5 separate regions of the Homo sapiens genome follow, and regions 1, 3, 4 and 5 are each linked to region 2. The links are contacts of gene promoters, found by promoter capture Hi-C in human tissues and cell types (Jung and others, 2019). All regions are on one chromosome and are shown on one strand. Each heading gives the region's core, a stretch centred on a gene start or on the middle of the fragment in contact. The rest is flanking DNA. Distances are from core to core; before and after follow the strand shown. Region 1 overlaps NSMCE1 (NSE1 component of SMC5/6 complex). Region 2 holds the start of ZKSCAN2 (zinc finger with KRAB and SCAN domains 2). Region 3 has its middle 15 kb from the start of LINC02195. Region 4 has its middle 6.5 kb from the start of LINC02195. Region 5 has its middle 170 kb from the start of LINC02195.

Region 1 (2,700 bases), core at 27-2,526, 2.0 Mb before region 2:
GGGTTTATCCTGATTTTGCAGGGTTGATTTAGTATTAATATTTGAAAATCAGTGTAATTCACCATATTAAGCTAAAAAAGAAAAATCTTGTGTTTATCTCAATAGGTACAGAAAAAGTATTTGACAAAATCTCATGTTTGCCCTGGTGTGATGTAGCAGAAAGTTTTTTATAGGAAGCTAAGGGATCCTAAGTAGCAGGGGATAAATAGGATAAATAGACTTAGAACACAAGTGAGGAGTCTGAACTCTACAGAGTTTTATATATATATATATATTTATATATATATATATATATATATATATATATTTTAAATAATTAAAATTAAGGCTGGGCGCGGTAGCTCACGCCTGTAATCCCAGCACTTTGGGAGGCTGAGGTGGGCAGATCACCTGAGGTCGGGAGTTCGAGACTAGCCTGACCAACATGGAGAAACCCCGTCTCTACTAAAAATACAAAATTAGCTGGGCACGGTGGTGCATGCCTGTAATCCCAGCTGCTCGGGAGGCCGAGGCAGGAGAATTGCTTGAATCCGGGAGGCAGAGGTTGCAGTGAGCTGGTATCGTGCATTGCACCCCAGCCTGGGCAACAAGAGCAAAACTCCATCTCAAAAAAAAAAAAAAAACAGTTAAAATTAAATAAATTTCATTTATTTTATTATTTTATTTTATTTTTGAGAGAGAGTCTCAAAAAAGCCTCCCAGGCTGGAGTGCAGTGGTGCCATCTCAGCTCGCTACAACCTCCGCCTCCTGGGTTTAAGCAGTTCTCCTGCCTCCGCCTCCCGAGTAGCTGGGATTACAGGCACGTGCCACCACGCCCGACGAATTTTTGTTATTTTTAGTAGAGGTGGGGTTTCACCGTGTTGGCCAGGCTGGTCTTGAACTCCTGGCCTCAAGTGATCTCCCTGGCTTGGCTTCCCAAAGTGCTGGGATTACAGGCATGAGCCACCGCGCCTGGCCCTCTACACAGAGTTTAAAAAAAAAAAAAAATCCAACAGCTATTCCTGATTAAAAAACAAAAACAAAAACAATACCCTCAGCAAAGTGAGAAAAGAAGGGAACTTCCTTAACCTGATAAAGGGGATCTCTGTAAAACCTACAGCTAACATCACTCTTAATGGTGAAAGACTGAATACTTTTCCCTAATCTCAGGAGAAAGACAAGAATGTCTGTTCTCACCACTTTTGTTCTAGCTAGTGTACTGAGGCGAGAAAAAGAAACAAAAGGTAGCTGGATTAGAAAGGACGACACAGTAAAACTGTCAGTTCACAGACAACATGATCATCTGTGTAGAAAATCTGATGGAATCTACAAAAAATCTTCTGGAACTAATAAGTGAGTTTAGTAAAGTTGTAGGATACAAAATCAATATCCAAATACCAATTGTTTCTCTATATGCTGGCAATGGATAATCAGAAATGGTAATGTAAAAATAGCACCATTTATAATAACATTAAAAATAAGAAATGCTTAGGAATAGATCTGGCAAAAATGTGTTAGACCCGTACACTGAAAACTACAAAACATTGTTGAGAGAAGTCAAAGGAGATTTAAATAAGTGGAAAGACATAGCATGTTCATGGGCTGGGAAATTCAGTATTGTTAAGGTATCAATTCTCCCCAAATTGATCTATAGATTCAAAGAAATCCCAGTTAGATCCCAGCAAGGCTTTTTATAAAAATTAACAAGCTGATTCTGAAATTCACATGGAAATGTAAAGGACCTAGAAGAGCCAAAACTATTTTGAAAAAGACAAACTTGAGGAACCCTGCCTGATTTCAAGACTTACTGTATGGCTGTCCTATCAAGACAGTGTGGTAGTCATGTCATGATGGACAAACAGATGAAGGGAAAAAAATAAGAGAGCTAGATAACAGACCCACACATAGGTGGACAGCTGATTTTTGACAGAAGTGCAAAGGTAATTTAGTGGAAATAGTCTTTTCCAAAATGAGTGCTGGAATAATTGGATATCCATAATCAAAAAATGAACTGCAAGCCATACTTTGCACCAAATACAAAAATTATCTCAAAATGAGTCATAGACCTAAATGTAAAACCTGAAACTATAAAACTTCCAGAAGAAAACATAGGAGAAAACCTCTGTGACCTATGATTAGTCCAAGATTTCTTGGCTCCAAAAGCATGCTCCATAAGAGAATGAATCGATAAATTGAACTTCACAATTAAAAATTTACATTAAAAAATACTCTTTAGAGACTGAAAAGACAAGCAAAATACTAAGAGAAAATATTTGCAAATAATGTATTTAATGAATGACTTGTATTCAGAATATATAGAGAATTCTCAAAGCTCAAAAATAAGAAAACATTCAACCCGGCTGGGCGTGGTGGCTCACACCTGTAATCCCAGCACTCTGGGAGGCTGAAGCCGGTGGATTGCTTGAGCTCAGGAGTTTGAGGCCAGCCTGGGCAACATGACAAAACTCCGTCTCTACAAAAAAATACAAAAATTAGTCAGGCATGGTGGCATGCACCTGTAGTTTCAGCTACTTGGGAGGCTGATGTGGGAGGGTTGCTTGAGCCTGGGAGGCAGAGGTTGGAGTGAGCTGAGATTGTGCCACTGCACTTCAGCTTGGGTGACAGAGGGAGATCCTGTCTCAAAAAAAGAAAAGGAAAAGGAAAAACATACAACCCAGTAAGAAGTGTGCAAAATATTTGAACACTGCAAATCGGTTGTAC
Region 2 (2,700 bases), core at 99-2,598:
TCTATTATCTCTAAGAGCAGCCACCATAAGACTTCAAAAGAACCTTAGTCTCCACTATCTTTTATCTTAACCTGAACACTTCCTTTCTATCAATCCCAGGTCTTCAGACAAACTCAACCAATTGTCAACTAGAAAATATTTAAATTTACCTATAGCCTGGAAGCCCCCACCCCCACCCCTTTGCGTTGTCCCGCCTTCCTGGACCAAACCAATGTATTTAATGTATTTGACTGATGTCTCATGCCAACCTAAAACATAAAACCAAGCTGCACCCCGACCACCTTGGGCACATGTTCTCAGGGCCTCGAGAGGGCTGTATCACAGGCTGTGGTTACTCGTATTTGGCTCACAATAAATCTCTTCAAATATTTTGCACGGTTTTACTTTTCGTCAACACTCCCTATTACCTGTAACTTCTCAGTTTCCAAGAGCTGAGAGCTTGATTTGCGAGCTACCCTCCCACTTCTCCAATTCCATGGCCACTGAATGAAGGCTGCACTGCCTGATACTCACACTTGGTCTCATGCGCTGGCTCTGCAACAACGGACAGACAAGAGTTCCTTTGGGGGAAACCAGCTTCCCAGGTGACACTGTTGCCTCTGCTACATGCGCAAAGCGCAGCCTGGCACATAGTAGGTGCTCAAGAGAGGGAAAGCCGGGTCTATGAATTCAGGGACAGGGGCAGCACCAGAAGAGAGCAAGCTGGGGCCTGGCTGGCTGAACCCTGGCCCCGAGACCCCTGTGACCCCCCTTCTCATCAGGATGCACCACATGAACCTCCCCAACGCGAGGGCCAACAAGTGGCCCCAGATGAGACCGCGCCGGGAAGGGCCTGGGGCCACGCACAGATACTTCCGCCAGAAAAACACCACGCCGCGCCGTGCACCTCCGCCAGAGGAAGAAGGTCCCGCAGGGTCGGGGTAACCGCTCCATCCCCGACCGCAACCCTGGACCAGGTACAAGGAACAGATCCCTCCACCGGAACGCCGTGTCCCTCCGCCAGACACAGGAGTCCCCGCTCCCGTGCTCTCCTTCCCCGGCAGCCAGGCCCCGGTGCCGACTCCTCCGCCTCAGGGAGGCCCCGCCGCCGCCTAGATTCTCCGCCTGAAGCGGGACTCGCGACGGCAGGTTCCCTAGAATCCCTCTGTGTCCCTCCGCCCCGGGGAGGACCCTCCGCGCCCCTCTACAATCTTAAAGTCCCTCAGCGACGAGTCACCGCGCCGCGCGCTCTCGCGAGAGTCCACCGCACGGCCCCCCCCCCCTCCCCCAGCCCCTCGCCCGCCAGGACGCCTCGCGCGGGCCCCGCGGCGCTCGGTGGCAGGCGGCGCATGCGTGACTGCGGTTCCCAGCGCCCCCCGCGCTCTCCGCGGGCCGAGTGGACGAGGCCGAACGCGAGCAGCCTGCCGCTGCCCCCTGCGAGCCCTGGCTTCGCCCCGCAGCTCTTCTCCCTTCCGGGCGGAACAGTTTTTGCGGCCTTTCCTCGGCGGCAGCGGTTTCCTCAGGACGGTCGGGGCCGTCGTGGGCCCGAAAGAGCCCGGCGCCGCTCTCGGAATCCGGCGGCCCCAGCGGCACCCGCGGCGGCCTGGACGTGCTGCGGTGACCCGAGCCCGGAACCTGGCGCCGGGCGGGGCCTGCACATCCGGCCCCACCCACTCGGGGACTCGCCTCTCCGCGCCCGACCCGGGAGTAGCGGACACACCCCCTCCCGGCCCGGCTGTCCGCCTCCGCCCAGCCTTTCCTCAGCCTGCTTCATTTTTCTCCCAGTCGTCCAGCCTCCCGGTTTCCGACTTTGCACTAAGAGGGATGCACTCTGGAAAACCACATTGCGCGGTCACATCTTGTTTGGAGAAGAGGCCAGGCTTTTGCATCTTAGAGTATACGTTCACCTTTTCAAGGGCCTGGCATAGATTTGATTAATCAGCCTGGAATACCCTGTTCCTGCCGACCTGGCCGTTTTTACCTCCGTACCTTATCACACTCCCAGGAACATTAAGCAGGGAGCGCTTGGAGTCTTCTTTGGGTCCCCACCTTGAGCTAGACGTGAAGTTGACCCCTGGGCTGCAGCATGGCTGTCGCCCTCGACTCTCAGATCGACGCGCCCCTGGAGGTTGAGGGATGCCTAATAATGAAGGTGGAAAAGGACCCTGAGTGGGCATCAGAGCCCATTCTGGAAGGATCGGATAGCTCTGAGACCTTCCGCAAATGCTTCAGGCAATTCTGTTATGAGGATGTGACTGGACCCCATGAAGCTTTCAGTAAACTCTGGGAACTTTGCTGCCGGTGGCTGAAGCCAGAAATGCGTTCCAAGGAGCAAATACTTGAGCTGCTGGTGATTGAGCAGTTTCTCACCATTTTACCCGAGAAGATTCAGGCTTGGGCACAGAAGCAGTGTCCGCAAAGTGGAGAGGAAGCGGTGGCCCTGGTAGTGCATTTGGAGAAAGAGACTGGAAGACTAAGACAGCAGGTGAGAGAGGATTTTCCAAATTTTTGTACTTAGAAAAAAGGGAATGGGAAAGGCATGTGGGCAGGGATGTATTGCAGAAAGACGTGCTCTTCAGAGAAAGATAAATGGTACTAATAAAAGACCCTATAAGGGGGTCTTTTCACTTTAAGTGAATCCACTTAAAAGGGGATCAGAATTTCACATGAAATAGAAAAATAAAAGCTTTGATTGAAATATTATCTTACAATGGAAACCAG
Region 3 (2,700 bases), core at 135-2,634, 1.3 Mb before region 2:
TGGTTGTTCAAAAGGAGCTGACACCTCATCATCTCTCTCTTATTCTCCCTCTCACCATGTGGTATGCCAGCTACCCCTTTGCCTTCTACTATGATTGGAAGCTTCCTGAAGCCTCACCAGGAGCAGATGCCAGCACCATGCTTCTTGTATAGCCTGCATAACCATGAGCCAAAACAAACCTCTTTCCTTTATAAATTACCCAGCCTCAGGTATTCCTTGATAGCAACACAAAAGAGACTAAAACACTAGCTTACACAGGGCAAGAGGAACCAACCATTATGGCTGAGAAGATTTTTTTCAATGACTTGGGAGAGTTAGAATCAACAGGAAATAAGTTCACAGAAGACGGTAGCAGTGGGATGAGAGAGGCAAAACAAATCAACATCATTGTTTCCTCCCATAACTAGAGTTTAGAAATTTACACCTGAGGCCGGGTGCGGTGGCTCATGCCTGTAATCCCAGCACTTTGGGAGACCGAGGTGGGCAGATCACTTGAGGTCAGGAGTTCGAGACTAGCCTCGCCAACATGGCGAAACTCTGTCTCTACTAAAAATACAAAAAGTAGCCAGGTGTGGTGGCAGGCGCCTATAGTCTCAGCTAATCGGGAGGCTGAGGCAGAAGAATCGCTTGAACCTGGGAGGCAGAGGTTGCAGTGAGCCGAGATTGTGCCACTGCACTCCAGCCTGGGTGACAGAGTGAGACTCTGTCTCAAAAAAAAAAAAAAGAAAGAAAGAAATTTATACCTGAGTATTATTCTCAATGCAGCATAGGGTAGTCTCTTGCAGGATAGCTGGAAGGATCCTCCTTCTGAAAACTCAAAAGAAAAGGGTTTTTCTCACTGGAATGGAATCTATGTGTGGATAATAATAATAGGAACAAAAACATCAACCAACATTTATCAAGCTCTTACTAGATTTCTGACATTCTATTAAGAGTTCTAATGCTTTGTCTTACCTAATCTGCTGTTGAACAACTTAATGAAGTAGCTACTATTATCATCCCTACCTTATGGATGTAGAAAGTACGGTTTACAAAAATGAAGACACAGCCAAGGCCACTGGCCTGCAGGTGGATGATCTGGGATTTGAATATAGGCAGTATGGTTCTGAAGTCCATAATTTTAACAATGATTCTCTACTTCCTTTCCACCACTAGATGAAGATAGTATTGTTTCTTTCTAAGGATGAGATAACTGAGGCTCAGAATATTTAAGTGAGAGTCATTTCACCAGTGGAAGTAGGACCCAACTTGGACCTAAGCTAGTCCTGGAATTTCTAGGAAAGATATGACTTCTGTCTATTTGGGTTGCTAAGCTGGTTGGATATAGATTATGTCCTAGGTATTGGGCCATCTTATATTGTCTGAAAATTCTGCCAGCTCCAAGATAAGCAGGGCTACAAGATGACTTGGAACAAGCAATGCTTGAAGCAGCTCTACACCCATAACCTGATGAATTACTCTTTGACTTAATTCAGTTTGAGCTGGTGGGCTGCCTATCTCCTGTTTGCCTTGTGGATTTATATACTTCCCTACTTCAACTGAATCACTACCCAGGAAGCTGAGCTATGACTTCACTAGCAGTCCCCAAGGCGTTCGGCTTCCAGCAGGATTGGCCAACAGGGAGCACTGGCAGAGCCTGGAGGGAGGGAGGAGAGTGAGGCCATTTATTCCTTGATTCCCATGGCATCACTGAGGGTAAGCTAGATGACCTCAACCAAAGGTCACAGACAGCCCGCTTCTCACTTCTACTCTCATTCCTCTCTCTCTGTCTCTTTCCCTTCTCTCTCTTTGGGATGGATCTAGTAACAGCTCTTTCTCTTGCTACTTCAGACTTGGTGTAGTAATGGTGCCCCATTGTTATGTTCTCTGGGGTGCTGCACTATCCCTGTGCTGGCTTTTTACAGCTATTTCACAGTTTTGTAAGTAGATCCTTTATTAAACTCTATTCATATTAACCAAATTGAGTGTTCCATCTACTTTCTGCTGAGCTCCTGACTGATACAGAGAGTTTTCTGTCATTAAAACCAACAATCCCAATTATTACAGGAAATATAGTTGAAGTACCTCCTTTATTTCAACATTGTGCTAAGCCCTGCACTTACATGATCCCTTAGCTTGTCACACGGACCTTCATAAAGTGGCTTTATTTACCTCTATGGCCCAATTGTCTTTATGCCTGCCACACCAAATTTATATTTTGGCTTCTTCACTTAGGTGGTTCCATCTATCTGCACACTCCCATCTCCACCCTACATTACTTCCTTGATGCATTCCTTGCCCTTTTCTCAGGCACTGATCCAAAGCCACCTCCTTTCTGAAGCCCTCCCAGCTATGCTACTCCCCTTAGCAGGGTATGCCTTCTCATCTCAGTTGCCTCACCTTGGTCATCCTTCAACTAGAGAGCTTAGTGAATTGTAAGACAATACCCTATTCAAGAGTCTTTCTCCACCTAAGAATGGGAGAAACTCAAGGAAAGGCAATGCCTCCAGTCATTCTCTCTGTTCCTAGAGTATAGCAAAGTACCTGGCACATAGCAGCTACTTGGTGGCAAGTACTGAGGGAGGCAGGCAGGAAGGAGGAGAAGAAGAAGGAAGGAAGGAAGAAGGGGAGGGAGGGAGGAAGGAAGGAGGGAGGGAGGGAAGGGAGGAAGGAAACAGAGAGGGAGGGAAGGGAGGAAGGAAGCAGGGAGGGAGGGAAGGA
Region 4 (2,700 bases), core at 123-2,622, 1.3 Mb before region 2:
AAGTAAGTTAAAAAAATAAATAAAGTCTCCCTTCCCTGTTGTTTCTCAATGACCTGAGGGTAAAGTTCGAGCCACTTGGTAAAGTGTAAAAGACCCGTCTTATCTGACTGCTGTCTTATCTGACTGCTGTCTTATCTGGGCTGCTGCTTGACTGTCTAGTTTCATCTGTTGACGATAAGTTCTACGTCCAGCTGGATGGAACTGGGAGCTGGACATTTGATGTGTTATGCTTGTTCTGCTTAGGGTGAGCCTGAGCTGGGAAACCCTTCCCCCTCGCTCCCTGCACCTTACTCACCTCAGCTTGTCTTCACCCACTAACTTCTCCCACCTCTTCTTCCACATCAGGAGCCTGTCCCTCCCCTTTTCCCAGATCCTTATGGCTTTCTCAGTCACTGCATGGATCCTGCCTATGTTAGAATTGCTTGTTTTCTTCTCTGTGGCCCTCACTTAACTAATCTCTGTGAGGGCAGTGAGCATGTCCATCTTGGTCCCTGCTGTATTCTCAACGCGCAGTAATGCTTTGCAAAGAAAAGATGCTCAGAAAGTATTTGCTGAACATATAAATGGGAGCTGGTTTCAGTGGCTCATGCCTTTAATCCCAACAGTTTGGGAAGCTGAGGCAGGAGGATCATTTGAGGTCAGGAGTTTGAGACTAGCCTGGGCAACATAGTGAGACCCTGTCCGTACAAAAACCTTAAGAAGAAGATTAGCTGGGCATGATGGTATGCACTTGTAGTCCCAGTTACTCGAGAAGATGAGGCAGGAGGATCACTTGAGCCCAGGAGTTTGAGGCTGCAGTGCGCAATGATCCTACTGCACCACTACACCCTAGCCTGTGTGACAGAGCCAGACCCTGTCTCTAAAAGAGAAGCAGCAACAATAAAAACATAAAAATAAAAATTACTCTTGCTCTGGACCCCATCCAGTGATTTCCAGGCTCCTTCAACCTTTTTCAACAGTTCCTGACTTTTATCAGCTTGACCATTACTTGTGATTCCTTTGTCTGTCTGCAGACCTTTCCAGTAACCTCCAGGTTCCCTGAAGGTCCCACAATTTGCTTTTCCTTCCCTAGTCAGGACCGTCCAGACATACTCCATGCTTTCTTCCTTGTGGGGATGACATGATCCCCAGCTCCATGAGAGCAGAGATCTTCTGCGTCTTGCCCATTGTGGTGTTCTAGTGCTTGGCACTTAGTAGGTGCTCAGTAAACATTTGTTGAATGAATTTTTAAAAATCAGTCGTGCAATCCATGGACAACAGAAGCTTGAGCTCATCTCTGCCAGTGGATATGAACAGATGTGTCCTTACCCCCTTTGGGCTACTCATGGAACTGCTTTTGGGTTAAAATGTTGCCAGGGCATAACTGCTTCTCTTGCAATCTCTTCTGATGGATTTAGGTTCTAGCTCTGATTCTCTGGACCTGGGAGAGGGGTCCTTATGTCTCATCCGCTATGTCTTTCCTCATTCTCCTTTCAGCAGCTACAAGATAGGCCATTCAAGAAGCCACCACTCCCTGCAAGAGGAGAGATTTCAGCTCTTAGGAGAATTTATTGCAGAGATTAGATGCTGCCAAACCCTTCAATATCAGCTCCCATCTAAACACAGGCTCAGAGATAGGAATGAATTCAAGTTGTCTGTTTAGAAGACTTTTGCAGGCTTCAGGAAGCCACTGCCTGTCATGGAAGATTGATTCACAGGAATATGGCAAGGAAGCCCGGGCATTCAGTGACAAGGCACATCTTTGCCAAGTGTCTTGGCACATCTTTGCCAAGTGTCTCAAATAGCCTGGGAACAAAATTCACCAAGGGGAAGATGGTGCTGTCCCCTTGGTTTACATGTTGGAGGTGTGAGTCTTTGCAACTTCCTGACAACAAGGCTTCCTAGTTCCCATTTAAAATCAAGTCAGTTTTATAAAGCATTAACATGATGAGATGCATTAAGCTAAAGAGTGCCTTTTAAGAATAATAGCAAATAATTTATAATGGATGCATCAGCTTTAGTAAAAAGTTTTTTTTTGGTGACAAAATAAAATCATACATAAAAGGCAAGTAAGACAGTTTCACTTTAATAGGGTGCCCAAGTGGAGTAAAAAAAAATGTCAAAGCCAAAGTGTTTGTAGGAGTGAAAGATTCTCAAGAGAAAGTAAGATGAGACATCAAACGAATTGGCTTTGGTAGAAGACAGGTCTAGGCTGCAAAAACAACCTGGATAGCTTGCTTGCTTGCTTTCTTGCTTTCTTGCTTGCTTGCTTTCTTGCTTGCTTTCTTTCTTGCTTTCTTTCTTGCTTGCTTGCTTGCTTGCTTGCTTTCCTTCTTTCTTTCTTTCTTTCTTTCTTTCTTTCTTTCTTTCTTTCTTTCTTTCTTTCTTTCTTTCTTTCTTTCTTTCTTTCTTTTTTTTCTTTGAGATGGAGTTTGCTCTTGTTGCTCAGGCTGGAGAGTGCAATTGTGCAGTCTCAGCTCACTGCAACCTCTCCGCTTCCCAGGTTCAAGCAATTCTCCTGCCTCAGGCTCCCGAGTACCTGGGATTACAGGGGTGTGCCACTGTACCCAGCTGATTTTTGTGTTTTTAGTAGAGATGAGGTTTCACCATGTTGGCCAGGCTGGTCTTGAACTCCTGACCTCAGGGCATCCACCCACCTGGGCCTCCCAAAGTGCCGGATTATAGGCGTGAGCCACTGCACCTGGCCCACAATGTGGACAG
Region 5 (2,700 bases), core at 183-2,682, 1.5 Mb before region 2:
TTCAAAGCCCAAAACATAGTTTTCTATTTTCCTACTAACCCTGAAGCCTTCCTTCCTGTTAACTCTTTTTCTCCAGGTCCTTGGTAAAGAAAACCTGTTTTATAGAGGCAGAGTGGTACAAGAACTTGCCTTTTATTTTTAAATGGAGTTTCACTCTTGTCACCCCTGGCTCAGGTCACTGCAACCTCTGCCTCCCGGGTTCAAGTGATTCTCCTGTCTCAGCCTCCCGAGTAGCTGGGATTACAAGCACCCACCACAACCCCCAGATAATTTTCCTATTTTTAGTAGAGATGGGGTTTCATCAAGTTGGCCAGTCTGGTCTCGAACTCCTAACCTCAGGTGATCTGCCCGCCTCTGCCTCCGAAGTGCTGGGATCCCATGCGTGAACCACCACGCCCGGCCAAGAACTTGCCTTTTAATTTGTTTTCAGTCCTTGGGCTTGAGAGAACTCTGCTGCAATTTTAACAACAACCAGACACACAATATCAAGGTGCCACCTGTGGCTTGTCCGAAGCACTTTGTACTAGGTCGTATTGGTTCTACTTTACAGATGTGGACACTGAGGTTCAATCCAGTAGACCAAGATATTCTCTCTACAATAATACCCTCTTATTTCTATTTATTAGCTGATTTATAAAGTATTCCACCCTATGTCCTTGAATGTACCCTCTGGTAGTAGGGTCACCCAACTCCACCATCCTGAATAGGGTTTATTAGTATGTTGACTTCTAAGGTGTGAATAAAGCAAGAAAAAGGATAAGGAAGAGGAGAACCAGAGTCCGGAAATTCCATGTCGTACCCCAAACTTCTGCCTCCAACCCATCAGCCAAGCAGTCCTGGCCAGATTGAAGTGAACCTCAGCCGGCCTTAGAAAGGAATACAGATTATCATACCACATTCAGTGAATGAGATCTCTCAATCTGGATCTAGGCTCTCTTTCCAAGCAGCTTTGTCTAGGACACAGATGTGTGCCCAAATCTAGCCCTCCCATCTGCTGAACTACACCAAATGTTAGCACACTAGAGATGGAGAAAGATCTTGGCACAGGTTTAGAATTACCACTTCTAATCTGCTGTTCCCTGCAAATGACACCCTTGCTAATTCCGGGAGGGGCATGATCTGTATTTCACAGAGCCCATGTGCTGGTTACCTGGTGACCTGGGCCAGATAGTGCTATCGGAAGTAATAGGAGCTGTGATAGAATTCAGCTAGAGTCCAGGGCTGTCTCGCTCTTGCACTCACAATCACATTGCTTCCTTACATGGAATGCTGAGAGGTTATTATACATGGAATGCTGAGAGGCAATTGAGTGATCTCAACAGCAAACAAGGCATCACCTTGCTATTAGAGGGCCCAATGGACCACACCTGATGGGAGGGTCTCAGGAATAGCTGGGATAATAGAGAAAATAGCACCTTCTAAAGAACTGTGAGAGTTTCTACTTCCTCCTAAACCCAAATCCCAATGCAGTCACCAGCTGGCCCCCATGCTTGAAATGAGGGCACCATTACATGTGCACAGGGGAAGGTGAAGTGAGAGAGACCTTGGCATGGAGGCATGAAGCAGGAAAGAACAGAGACAGACACTACTAGTTCTCAAACTTTGGAGTGCATAAGAACTACCTTGGGAGAATGTTAAAAATGCAGATGTCAGAGAGACAGTTTAGAATTATTGAGTTATAATCCGTGTTTTTAAATCCACCTCCATCAGGAGATTCTGATACATAGTGGGTTTTGAGAGCAGTTCATGTTTGACAAGTCTGTTTGTGATTTTTGCTCCCTTTTGCACAGTCCCTGAATTGGATTTGATCTCATTGGCATGAGGTGGAAGGTGCGGAGAAATTGTGTTCTCCTTCTTCAGGTATAAGCTGTCAGGACTCCTTCATCCTAGGTTAGAGGGAGACTGAACAGTCTTCCCTGGCCTCTTTCTATTTTTTGGTCTGATTTTTTTATTCTTCTTATTTTTTTGAGTTTCGCTCCTGTCACCCAGGCTGGAGTGCGATGGCACAATCTCAACTCATGCAACCCGCACCTCCTGGCTTCAAGTGATTTTCTTTTTCTTTTTTTTTTTTTTATGGAGTCTCACTCTGTCTCCCAGGCTGGAGTGCAGTGGCACAATCTTGGTTCATGCCATTCTCCTGCCTCAGCCTCCAGAGTAGCTGGGACTACAAGCACCCGACACCACGCCCGGCTAATTTTTTTTTGTATTTTTTTAGTAGAGACGGGGTTTCAGCGTGTTAGCCAGGATGGCCTTGATCTCCTGACCTCATGATCTGCCTGTCTTGGCCTCCCAAAGTGCTGGGATTACAGGCGTGAGCCACCGAGCCCAGCCTGACTTGTTTTTTTTTTTTTTATTTGAGTTAGTGAAGGCTGTTCTTGCACAAATCCTAAATTTATGGTGTTATGGTTTGGCCGTGTCCCCACCCAAATCTCACCTTGAATTGTAGCTCCTATAATTCCCACATGTCATGGGAGGGACTCAGTGGGAGGTAATTGAATCATGGGGGCAGGTGTTTCCCATCCTGTTCTCGTGGTGGTGAATAAGTCTCAGGAGATCTGATGGTTTTATAAAGGGGAGCTCTCCTGCACATACACTTGCGTGCTGCCATGGAAGATGTGCCTTTGCTCCTCCCTTGCCTTCTGCCATGACTGTGAGGCCGACCCAACCACGTGGAATTGTGAGTCTATTAAACCTCTTTTT

The links. The method cuts DNA at HindIII sites, captures the fragments that hold promoters and counts their contacts. A contact is called where the count stands out against the background at its distance.
Region 1: a fragment that was not itself captured here is called in contact with the fragment with the promoter of ZKSCAN2 in region 2 in 1 of the 25 tissues and cell types used here (mesenchymal stem cells).
Region 3: a contact is called between a fragment that was not itself captured here and the fragment with the promoter of ZKSCAN2 in region 2, in 1 of the 25 tissues and cell types used here (mesenchymal stem cells).
Region 4: a fragment that was not itself captured here is called in contact with the fragment with the promoter of ZKSCAN2 in region 2 in 1 of the 25 tissues and cell types used here (lymphoblastoid cells).
Region 5: a fragment that was not itself captured here is called in contact with the fragment with the promoter of ZKSCAN2 in region 2 in 1 of the 25 tissues and cell types used here (dorsolateral prefrontal cortex).

The regions. Positions count from the first base shown.
Region 1 is chr16:27,248,767-27,251,466 of GRCh38, reverse strand. The region is part of intron 2 of NSMCE1 (NSE1 component of SMC5/6 complex); the gene reads left to right. Among named protein-coding and RNA genes, the nearest start is that of NSMCE1-DT, 18 kb to the left of the region's middle. The HindIII fragment of the contact is 7,888 bases long and covers 1-2,700 here.
Region 2 is chr16:25,256,493-25,259,192 of GRCh38, reverse strand. ZKSCAN2 (zinc finger with KRAB and SCAN domains 2) reads left to right here and starts at 1,348. Exons shown (of 7, transcript NM_001012981.5): 1 at 1,348-2,464. The coding sequence starts at 2,066. It overlaps ZKSCAN2-DT (ZKSCAN2 divergent transcript), which reads right to left and starts at 1,616. Exons shown (of 1, transcript NR_170220.1): 1 at 1-1,616. RefSeq lists enhancers at 487-566, 687-1,006, 1,422-1,982 and silencers at 1,217-1,416, 1,497-1,736. The HindIII fragment of the contact is 3,469 bases long and covers 1-2,457 here.
Region 3 is chr16:26,579,109-26,581,808 of GRCh38, reverse strand. No RefSeq gene overlaps it. Among named protein-coding and RNA genes, the nearest start is that of LINC02195, 15 kb to the left of the region's middle. The HindIII fragment of the contact is 3,567 bases long and covers 1-2,700 here.
Region 4 is chr16:26,600,575-26,603,274 of GRCh38, reverse strand. No RefSeq gene overlaps it. Among named protein-coding and RNA genes, the nearest start is that of LINC02195, 6.5 kb to the right of the region's middle. The HindIII fragment of the contact is 4,145 bases long and covers 1-2,700 here.
Region 5 is chr16:26,759,183-26,761,882 of GRCh38, reverse strand. No RefSeq gene overlaps it. Among named protein-coding and RNA genes, the nearest start is that of LINC02195, 170 kb to the right of the region's middle. The HindIII fragment of the contact is 8,690 bases long and covers 1-2,700 here.